3 separate regions of the Homo sapiens genome follow, and all the other regions are linked to region 3. Evidence: promoter capture Hi-C in 16 types of primary human blood cells and fetal thymus (Javierre and others, 2016). All regions are on one chromosome and are shown on one strand. The core of a region is centred on a gene start or on the middle of the fragment in contact, and the rest is flanking DNA. Distances in the headings are between cores, read along the strand shown. Region 1 holds the start of LRRC59 (leucine rich repeat containing 59). Region 2 overlaps SPAG9 (sperm associated antigen 9). Region 3 holds the start of ANKRD40 (ankyrin repeat domain 40).

Region 1 (3,484 bases), core at 288-2,787, 310 kb before region 3:
GTTAATGCTGGACTGTTCAGATGCCTGGAGTATATGGTTTCAGAGAGCAGTCCTAGGGCAGGGTGAAATAAGGCTGGCCATCTATCTTCCTGGGGTAGAAAAGGAGGCATATATTCAGTTAAGGATCCTCTGGCAACCTGCACTTTCTGTCACAAAGTCGTAAAAGTGAAGTTTGACCACCTAAAAAAGTTTTAAATACTACAGCGGGAAAAACACAACAACAGCTACAAGTATCAGTATTTGCTCCTTCCAAGCATTTTCCATTACAATGGTATTTAACCTCCCAATAAGCGTATGAGATGGAAACTATTATCACCATTGTATAGATGAGGAGATCTAGGCATAAAGGCTAACTAGCTTGCCAAGGGCACTCGGCTATTAAGCAATGGAGCTGGGAGGAGCTAGGAACCCGGTTCTAACCACTGTAATACCCGTCCACGGTGGAAGAAAGACTGGGCCCAGCGCCCAAGGCAAATGTAATTTATCAACGGCAGAAAGCAAAGTGTGGGTCACCCAAAGTGAGTCTAGTAGGGCGTTGGCGCGGGTGGGAGGGGGAACGGAGTGGGAAAAGGAGGGATGTGGGAACTAGCTCCACGCTGACAAAACTAGATGCCTGCTATCTCTCTGGAGCTGTAAGCTTCAGTTTACAGGGGAAAGGTTGGGGGAGAGAGGGGCGAAAGGGACTCCCGCCAGTTTCAGCGGAATTCAGATGACAGTTTACCAGCCAAGCTGGGGGGAGACTTTACTTTCTTCGAGTTAGGCTGCCTCAGGGCTCGGGCAGCCAGCTGGAATTGCCAGCTTCCTAGAAGAGCCAGGTTCTGGGCCACACCCAGGTCTACCAGGAGGCCTACTCCCCTGGAACAAGTCACTCATTCATTCTCGAATACATCCAGTAACTGCTCCGTGTGCTCCTACTCAGAGTCGGGCACGGAGGTGGGCGCTGTGAAAGCCCCGCAAAGGTGACAGATTCGCTTCTTAGCCTGTAAAAAGCCTAGGGCCAGAGAAGCAGATCTTCCCTATGTTCTGGAACTGCGCCAAAGTGACACGTGTACATCCCGGGAAGAACCTTGGGCTGGACGCGGCCTCCTAGGGGACTTAGTCCCACCACCCCGCTTCTTTTTAAAGAAAAGGAAACTGATGCTTTTAGAGAAGAGGAAAGTAAGTGGCCCACGTAGGGGCCAGCGCCCGGCGAAGGTGGGCGCCTGGGCCTCGCGGGACGATACTGACCAGCTCCTTCACCGGGACCTCATTCAGGTCGCTGAGGCTCAGGTCCAGTTCGTTGCCGTCCAGCTTGTCGCGGAGGTTCCCGCCCTTGCTACCGGCCTTGGTCATGGTAACGCCGGCTGAGCGGGCCCCGGCTCCGGGGTTCCGGCGGGTGAAAGGAGCTGAAATGTCGCTTGTCAGTTCAGCGGCCCCCCACCCAAACGACGACGCCTGAGCCCTCCGTCGCCGCCGATGCGAGACCGCCTCCGCCCGCTGGCCGCACTCCGAGCCTCGCGCCTAGCTCCCACCGGTGCCGCGACGACGACCACTTCCGTGTCCACGTCACCTTCCGCGACCACTGAGATGGGCTGGGCCAGAGCGGCCCGAGCGTGTGCGGGCACGCCCCCTGGTGCCCAGGGTGATGCACTGCACGTCGCCGCCGCCGGAGGGGTGGGGTTGGAGGCTGCGAGCTCGGTTCACGTTCACCCGTGGCCCGCGGGCATTATTGCTGGCAGTGCCACGAGGCGAAAGGGCACGGACTGGGCGCCAGAAGACTGGGTTGACATCCAATACTGACCTCATCAGATCACCCCAATCCCCCTGATTAGGAGCAGAAGCTGGGTGTCCTCTAAAACTGCTCCCTGTCCTCTACTTAACCCCCGAATAACCATCATGGGGAAAACTCTTCTTCCTGAATTTCTCCTCTCTCCTCCCCACTCACTGCCTCAGTGCTTGTCTCTGTCCTTCCATCCACTTTCACCCAGCTCCCCGGTGATCTTTCTAAAAATCTGGCCAAGTCTCTCCCCTACGTAAAACCCTTCAAACTTGCAGCTACCTCTAGGATACGGACCACTTTCCTTTGGAAGCTGGGTCCTGCCTGCTTTCGCAGCTTCCTCACACGCTCCAGTCCCTGCCTGGCCTAGATGCTGTGTAGATTTCCAGGAGGTGGCTCCCACGTCTGGCCCTCCCCAGCGATGGCCCTCCCTCCCCCCCACTCACCTCTGTCTAGCTAATTCCTTAGTCCTTCAGGAAATCTCCCCTGAACACCGTGAATGCCAGACTGAGTTAGCGCCCCCCCCAACCAACTTAGGTCCCTGTTTGCTACTTTATCATCAGAGACAGTAGAGCTTGATGGCCAAGTGGGACCTCTGGCACTAATACCTATCCACTGGGTATTCATCCTGGCTCTGCCACTTGCTACTTATAAAACCGTAGACAATCACCAGGCTTCAGTCTTATCTATGAATCAATCTATGAGACATGTAGCTAACAGAGGTTGGGGAGAACTGAAGGAGTAAAACACACCAAGAGCTTACAGCAGTCACTGGCACTTAGTAAGTACCCAATAAATATTAGCTACAATTCATGATCCACCTTGTATTATACTCATCTTTATGTGTCTGTCCTTCATTCTGGACTGTGAGGACAGGGATTTTTGTCTTAATCATCTTCGTATGCCCAGAGTTGGCATACCCTGATGCAGGGTAGCTACTCATTCAGATGTCTGTTGAATAAATGAATAGATGGATGGATGAATGAATGAATGAATGAAGGAAGGAAGCACTTTACCCACTCCAAACCTCAGTTTACTCATTTTGAAATAGGGATATTAAAGCTTATCTCAGAGGGGCCGAGCAGGATAGCTCACACCTGTAATCCCAATACTTGGGAGGCCAAGATGAGAGGATTATTTGAGGCTAGGAGTTCAAAACCAGTCTGGGCAACATAGCAAGACCCCATCTCTAAAAAAATAAAAAATAAAAAATCTTGTCTCAGAGGGAAACTATGAACACCAAATAAAGTAAGTGCAATTGTTACGGGGGGTGGGTGGCAGGGGTCCTTGTTCTTAGAACTCCCAAGATGGTGGCGGGCCACTTCCAAGATGGCGGCAAGCCTCTTGTTCTCTGACCTGGGTTTCTTGGCCTCACGCATTCCAAGGAATGGAATCTTGGGCCATGCAATGAGTGTTATAGCTCTATTCAGCTCAATTAGGACAAATCCAGGCACTTAGCCACGCAGGAACAATGGCAAGCCTTTAGCCTGATCCAGAGCAGCAATGGGCGCCTCACTGGATCGGGAGCCCAGCAGACACCCTGCCAGATCCAGAGGGGTGGAAGTCAGCAGCGGGTCTGCGACAGCAGCAAACAGCAGTAGTGGACGGTAAGGAAAAGCTCAGCTCAAGCCGTAACAAACACGGACCAGAAAAGTGTGCAGTTGCAAGATTTAATAGAGTGAAAACAGAGCTCCCATAAAATGGCAGGGGACCCAAAGGGGGTTGCTG
Region 2 (3,579 bases), core at 1,058-3,557, 260 kb after region 3:
TATCACGTTAAAACCCCACGTTTCTTGAAGGCACAAACAAAACACACTGGAAGAGATTAAATCTCGCTGCACTGAATCTGGAGTCACATTGTGCTGCCACATGATCAGTTTTATAGTCATTCTTCCTTCCCGAGTCTTGCCCAAGCAAATGGATCACAAATAAGCACGCTGCGTTAAAATTACATTACACCCTGCCTCTTATTATTGAATAATTTGGCAAATAGTATGCCTTAGTATCATGTGTGGGCTGTTACTCAGGGATCCCACATTTCTCCTAAGCCCTCTTGTCTATTCTCATATCTCACCTGAACACGTGAGCCAAGCTGACCAGCATGAGGGTTCCCCACTGCTCACCTTTAGCTGGTGCCAAATGGCAACAGTCCTGACCCTCAGGAATGACATGTGTGATGGGGAAGATTATTGGACTTGCAAATAAAAACCAAGTTCAGATCCCCAGGAACGGTAAAAACAAAACAAAACACACTAGACCTCATACATGTTCATATACATATTTATATATATCTCATGTACAAAGTTACATTCTGAACCCCAGGGATTCCATAATAGAAATAAATACTGAAATAACTACATTGCTAAATGAGCTCTTTGCTCATAGAAATGAAGCTCAGCCTCTAAGAGACAGCAAGTGGGACATTCTAGAACCCATTTTTCAGATTATAGAGGCAAGTAAAATTCTGATAGAATGTCTTGGACAAAAAACGAATTTGGAACATAAAATGGTTAAGATATATTCAAATAGAGAAATGTATGACAAAATTAATAAAACTTAATCTTTTAAGAGAAAAGACAGACATTTAGTGTTACAGAATAGCATAACCCTGTTAGAAAAGCATTTATGATTTCCACATTTAATTTTCTCTTCTACTCTTCCCATGTTACAAAGTGGGACCAAATGAGTCCCTTTCTGAACATGATCAATTAAGAAGAGCCCTAAATCTGGTTGAGTCCTTTGGTAACGGTCATAATACTCACAAGGAAATAAATATTCAGTTCCATGGCATTTGCAAGACACATGTTCTTTAGGACAGTTAATATTATGACACATCTGTTTTATTTTGTTACTAAGGCAGCCTATGTTAAAGGGTCTCGTCTCAAATGTAGGAAGACCTTTACAAGAAATGAACAATACAGTAACTGAAAGAATTGATTTTAACCTTTTCTATGCAAACACAATCTGAAAAGTTATGTGCTGCATATTGTGCTCAAAATGTTTTATACTCTCCACAAGCTGCAATTAAGAGATTCATTCCTATTTTTAAAATTTAGATCCACATGGGTTAGAGAAAAATACTCTCAAAAGTGAGTTCCTAGAGAATATTATCCCTTTGCCTCACAGAGATTTTAACCTGCATTTAAGAGTAAGTGTTAGGTTGAGGCATATGATATTGTCGCTTTTGCAGATCAGCAATGGTTGAACACTGGCAATTTCATATGGTTCAACCTTGCACATGACTCAAGTGTAAAAAAAGGAGAAACCTTCAAGTATTCCTTATTTCTTCCAATAGGGGTACACTTTTTTTGTACAGTGAGATCAACCCAAAGTACGCAAGCCTCTTCTCTCCCTTGATGTGGTAGCTACAGGCAGTTACATTCCTTTGCTGCTTGTGAGAAGCTTACATTTTGGCATTTTCTTCCAAAAATTACCACGTTGACCAAAGTAAACATTACAAGAATATGAACTTGTTATTGGGGGAAAGGGGAAGTGAAGCAATCTGTAGAAAATATTTAACTGAAATTACAAACATAAGGACAAGCCTTTAAAGCAAATTATACAGGCATTTTTGTCCTCTCTCTGGTCCCTGCAGTTAATTAACAGGGCCACAGATAATCTGACATCTTTAGATAAAACAACTACACACCTATATTACTTAAGTTAAAGCCAGTAAGTTCAAAAAAAGCAATTACAACCATTTGACATGTTTGTATTTTTCATCTCTAACTCCTGATTTCCTAAATTACATTCAGTCATACAAACATGGCTGAACAACAGCAAATGGGATCTGACTCTGGGATGTTTACTTCTTGGGATTAAAATTCCCAAACACTTTGGTGTCTCTTTCTTGTGAATCTATACAACATTTCCAATAAATGTTTAATAATGATTTTTTAAAAGATATTGCCAAAAATGGCTCAGATTTAAGATGAAATAAAAACATAGCAAACAAGCTATGGAAAAGTAGCCTACATTTTGGTGCCCTGCAAAAAAGTGACTAAGTAGCTCAAGCAAAAAATTATTCTTTTAATACAGCTTTTACCAAAACAGTTTTAATACATGAGTGGCTACAATTTTATTGTGTACACAATGTGCTTATAGTCACATGTGGCCCAATGGATCCAAATGCCTCCTCTGGCTCATGAAATCCCATGTACTTCACAATCTAGCCTAATCGTGTATATGCATAAAAGCCACTGGTATACTTTTTACAGACATCTTTGTATAATAGTCCAGAAAAAAAAAATCAGTGGTACTTAAGAATGTTTAGACAATTTGACATCTACGTTTGCTTTCTTTTCTTTTCAGTAGTCCTTCTGATGATTGGGGGCCTTTATCCCATAGGTTTATACTGTTAAAACAGTACATAAAATTACATTTAGCTTTGCTTCGGACCGGCGCGGGGGCTCACGCCTGTAATTCAAGCACTTCGGGAGGCCAAGGCGGGTAGATCATCTGAGGTCAGGAGTTTGAGACCAGCCTGGCCAATGTGGTGAAACCCTGTCTCTACTAAAAATACAAAAATTAGCTGGGCAGGGTGGCACACACCTGTAATCCCAGCTACTTGGGAGGCTGAGGCAGGAGAACTACTTGAACCTGAGAGGTGGAGGTTGCAGTGAGCTGAGATCGCACCACTGCATTCCAGCCTGGGCAACAGAGCCAGACTCCGTCTCAAAAAAAAAAAAAAAAATCATATTTAGCTTTGCCTAGAGTAATAGATAAAAAAGGGTAAATCACACATTTTCAAGAAGCTTGAGAGGGAAAAAATTGCAGCATCGTGGTTTTAAAAAACTTATTAAGCAAGAAAATCAGTGAAATCCAGACTTTAATCTATTTTTTGCTTGTTTGTCTGTTTTGAGACAGGGTCTTGCTCCGTCACCCAGGCTGGAGTGCAGTGGTGCTATCAAGGCTCACTGCAACCTCCACCTCCTGGGCCCAGGTCATCCTCCCACCTCAGCCTCCCAAGTAGCTGGGACTACAGGCATGTGCCACCACACCCGGTTAATTTATTTTGTTTTTTTTTTTTGGTAGAGACAGGGTTTCGCCATGTTGCCCAGGCTGGTCTTGAACTCCTGGGCTCAAGCAATCCATCTGCCTCAGCCTCCTAAAGTGTTGGGATTACAGGCGTGAGCCACCATGCCCAACCTATTTTTTTTTTTTAATGGGCATTGTGAATGAAAATATGTAATGTCAACCTTTACTTTATGGTATCTTAGGTTTGTCTTCTTCCCCTTCATAGTTTTCCCCTTTGAGGATAACCCTTCAAGCTCAAAAGGGCACAAAAGCTAAAACGTTATTCACGTACAAAATACCAAGTATATAGCTGTTCTGCAGTTTGATACAGA
Region 3 (3,448 bases), core at 429-2,928:
CTCAGCCTCCCAAGTAGCTGAGACTACAGGCATGCACCACCACGCCCAGCTAATTTTTGTATTTTTAGTAGAGACGGGGTTTCATCATGTTGGCCAGGATGGTCTTGATCTCCTGACCTCGTGATCCGCCCACCTCAGCCTCCCAAAGTGCTACTCACTTTAACTCTAAGCTAGCAAAATAGTCTGGCTAAGCATTACCTGAATCAAAATTTTAAATTTTAAATGCAGAGAGCGGAATAATGCCACATTCAGTAACTTTCTGTTTTGACCACCAGCAACATCTTAAGATGAGACTCCTTATTTAATTGGGAAGAATTCAATCTGCAGGCAGACATCTAAAGTCTTGGGTGACATTCTGTATTTGAAATTGTAATAAGAAAACTGGCCAGGAACGGTAGGCTCACATCTGTAATCCCAGCACTTTTGGAGGCTGAGGCGGGTGGATCACTTGAGGCCAGGAGTTTGAGACCAACCTGGCCCCATCTCTACCAAAAATACCAAAAAAAAAAAAAAAAAAAATTAGCCGGGTGTGGGGGCGCGTGCCTGTATTCCCAGCTATTTGGGAGGCTGTGGCAGGAGGATCACCTGAGCCGGGGAGGTAGAAGTTGCAGTGAGCCGAGACTATGCCACTGCACTCCACCCTGGGCGACAGGGCAAGACCCTGTCTCAAAAAAAAAAAAAAAAAAAAAAAAAAAAAGAAAGAAAATAATCGATAGGATAAACAAATGAGTTTTCCCTCAAACAGGCAACTACAGGCAGCAGCAGCAAATCGGTTGCAGTGAAACAACAGAGAAGCAGAATGGTGATGCAAATGTGTTTTTTTTTCCTGGTCTTGGCTAAGGAAATCGTGCTAGTTTATAAAATTCATATTTGCTCAGTTGCTTATGCTTTTAGCTCTGCAAGATGCGTTCTCCAGAAGCACCTACGGCAAATTAACTCAACACTCGAATTGGGGTGAGCTCCAACGCATAGTCGCTGAGAATCACTGCCTCCAGCACCGCTCTGACCAAGTGAGCCGGGAGCGCGGGGGAAGGGGGTAGGGCACCAGAGTCCCAGTGGGCGCTGCCCCGAGTGGACCACGTGGGCCGGGATTTGGGCAGGACGCGCTCCCGACCGCACGAGGCATGGGGGCCAGGGCTGGCCTCAAGAGAGCACAATCTCGGAGGCCCGAGGTGGCAGGCCTCGCCGTAGCCAGGCGTCCCGCGCTGGGCCCAGGTCGCGACTGACTGCCCCACGCCTTCCGACCGGCTGCCCTGACCCTAGGCCTCCCCCGCTCCCCACTTACCAGCCGTTGACCTCATTTTGGGAGTTCACATCCACCCCGCTCTCCACCAGTTTCTGCACCTCCCGAATGTCCCCTAAGGCCGCGGCCTCCCGCAGCCTCTCCTGCTGCTCCTTCTGCTCTAGGAGGGCGTTCATCTTCCCACAGCCCCAGGCCCCCGCCCAGGCCCGCCTGCCCCGCCCCGCCCGGGGCCTGTCAGCGCCGCCGCCGTCGCCGCGGCCCGCTCCCGGCCATGGGGAGGGAGCGCGGAACTCGCCCGCCCTGCTCGCGCCGCTGCCCGCGCCCGCCCCGGGACTTCCGCTCCCTCCCGCGGGCCGCCCCTGCTGCTCCCGGCCCGCAGGCCCAGGCCTCCTCCCGGGCCGCGCCTCCCGAAGGCCGGCTCCGGGGGACCCTGTTCAGTGTGACAACGCTGACCCAGATATTTTCCGTTCCGACCCGGGGCTCCGGCGCCCGGGCTGGCTGTTTATGTAACTACTGCACAATATTATATGCCATGATTCATTGACTATTTTTAGACTTCCCCACCCCGCAGTTTCAAGGGAGGAGGACAAGACACATGAAAAGAGAAAAAAGCATAGCTGAGGGCCAGAAAAGCCTTATCCTCTGGTGCAGGCTGTTTACCAGGCATCCAAAATAATTGGTGGGTTCTTTTTATTGGGATTTGGGGTTTTTTTGTTATTTTCCCCCAGTTTGGTTGGCTCCTTTTCCTTATCTGAGCCAATTCGTGCCCAGCAGGATGGGGAAATGGGCTGAAAACGATCCTACTATAATACGCCCATTATTACAGAGATAGATTAGACTCTTCTTCTTTTTGACAGTGCTTGGGGACAATTCAGTTAGAATATTTATTTCAATTGTTGTTGTTTTACATCTCATTTTAGACAGGATTTCTTCTAACCTGGCTTTCAGGAAAAATATTTATATTGTGCTCACAGTTTATGAACTGTAATTACTGCTTACAGATTGTAATTAGTTACTCTTCATGAAGGCCATATAAGGAGAAAAGAAAGGAAAAACACCAAAGAGGCTTTGGAGGTGTCCTGGTCCTGATTCCAAGTGCTCTGGGAAGAGCTGTGGTGTACATGTAAACAGCATTTTGCTTCACTTCTTGCCCGATCTATCTAATGAGGCTCAGAGCCTCAGTTGGCACTGTTTTATACCCAGTGGGAGAAAAAGGAAATATTGTTTTGTTGAGCCCAGGTGCCCTGAAGAGATCCTCCGATGTGGCACAGGATGGAACTTTACAGATGGGGTCAAGATTAAGGAAATAGCCCTGGGGAGGAAGGGAGGAAGGCCTGAACAAGGAGAGATGAAATAGGAAGGGATAAATTTAGGCATGGAGTTTTCATTTCCGTCTCTTGGGGCTGCTGGGATCTGCACAGCAAGCATTTTTCTTGCTACAGTTTAAGAAAAACCAATGTCTGTTTGTTTAGTATGATACAGTAATTCACACAGTACACAGTGCACACCAGGTGGTGCTGAATATAAACTGACTACACACTTAAATTGACCCCCATGGCAAATTGTAACCCTGCTTGAGCTTACATTTTCATTTGTTCCCCCAATTTAAATTTTAATTCTCACATCCAGCATGATACTCTATCTGAAACTGATGTGTATGGCACTGGATTTGAGTCCTTCAACACAATTTCAGTGACATGGGAGTAGGTAGTGGCTTGTTGTTTTTGTTTGCTTGTTTTTGAGACAGAGTCTCACTCTGTTGCCCAGGCTGGTGTTCGGTGGGGCGATCTCTGAGCTCCTTGCAACCTCTAAGTCCAGGTTCAGGCAATTCTCCTGCCTCAGCCTCCCGAGCAGCTGGGATTACAGGCCTGTGCCACCATGCTCGGCTAATTTTTGTATTTTTAGTAGACATGGGGTTTCACCATGTTGGCCAGTCTGGTCTCCAGCTCCTGACCTCATGTGATCTGCCAGCCTCAGCCTCCCAAAGTGCTGGAATTACAAGCATGAGCCACCGCGCCTGGCCTGTTTTTGTTTTTTTGTTGTTGTTGTTTTTTGTTTTTAATGCAGTTAAAAAAAATTGTTCGTGACTGCACCCCAAAGTCTATGAGTTCTTTTTTTTTTTTTTTTTTTTTTGAGATGGAGGAGTTTCGCTCTCATTGCCCAGGCTGGAGTGCAACAGCGCGATCTCGGCTCACCACAATCTCC

The links. Contacts are between HindIII fragments. The CHiCAGO score rates a contact against its expected background, and 5 or more counts as called.
Region 1: a contact is called between the fragment with the promoter of LRRC59 here and the fragment with the promoter of ANKRD40 in region 3, in 1 of 17 cell types (M0 macrophages). The highest score is 5.1, in M0 macrophages.
Region 2: a fragment that was not itself captured here is called in contact with the fragment with the promoter of ANKRD40 in region 3 in 1 of 17 cell types (M2 macrophages); the score reaches 6.9 in M2 macrophages.

What each region holds. Positions count from the first base shown.
Region 1 is chr17:50,395,986-50,399,469 of GRCh38, forward strand. LRRC59 (leucine rich repeat containing 59) reads right to left here and starts at 1,538. Exons shown (of 7, transcript NM_018509.4): 1 at 1,228-1,538. The coding sequence starts at 1,332. LRRC59-AS1 (LRRC59 antisense RNA 1) reads left to right here. Exons shown (of 2, transcript NR_199069.1): 2 at 1,231-2,572. RefSeq lists a silencer at 1,515-1,584. The HindIII fragment of the contact is 2,181 bases long and covers 636-2,816 here.
Region 2 is chr17:50,961,681-50,965,259 of GRCh38, forward strand. It overlaps SPAG9 (sperm associated antigen 9), which reads right to left. Exons shown (of 30, transcript NM_001130528.3): 30 at 494-3,579. Among named protein-coding and RNA genes, the nearest start is that of TOB1-AS1, 97 kb to the left of the region's middle. The HindIII fragment of the contact is 1,352 bases long and covers 1,632-2,983 here.
Region 3 is chr17:50,706,236-50,709,683 of GRCh38, forward strand. ANKRD40 (ankyrin repeat domain 40) reads right to left here and starts at 1,679. Exons shown (of 5, transcript NM_052855.4): 1 at 1,286-1,679. The coding sequence starts at 1,419. RefSeq lists silencers at 1,015-1,284, 1,415-1,624. The HindIII fragment of the contact is 9,335 bases long and covers 1-3,448 here.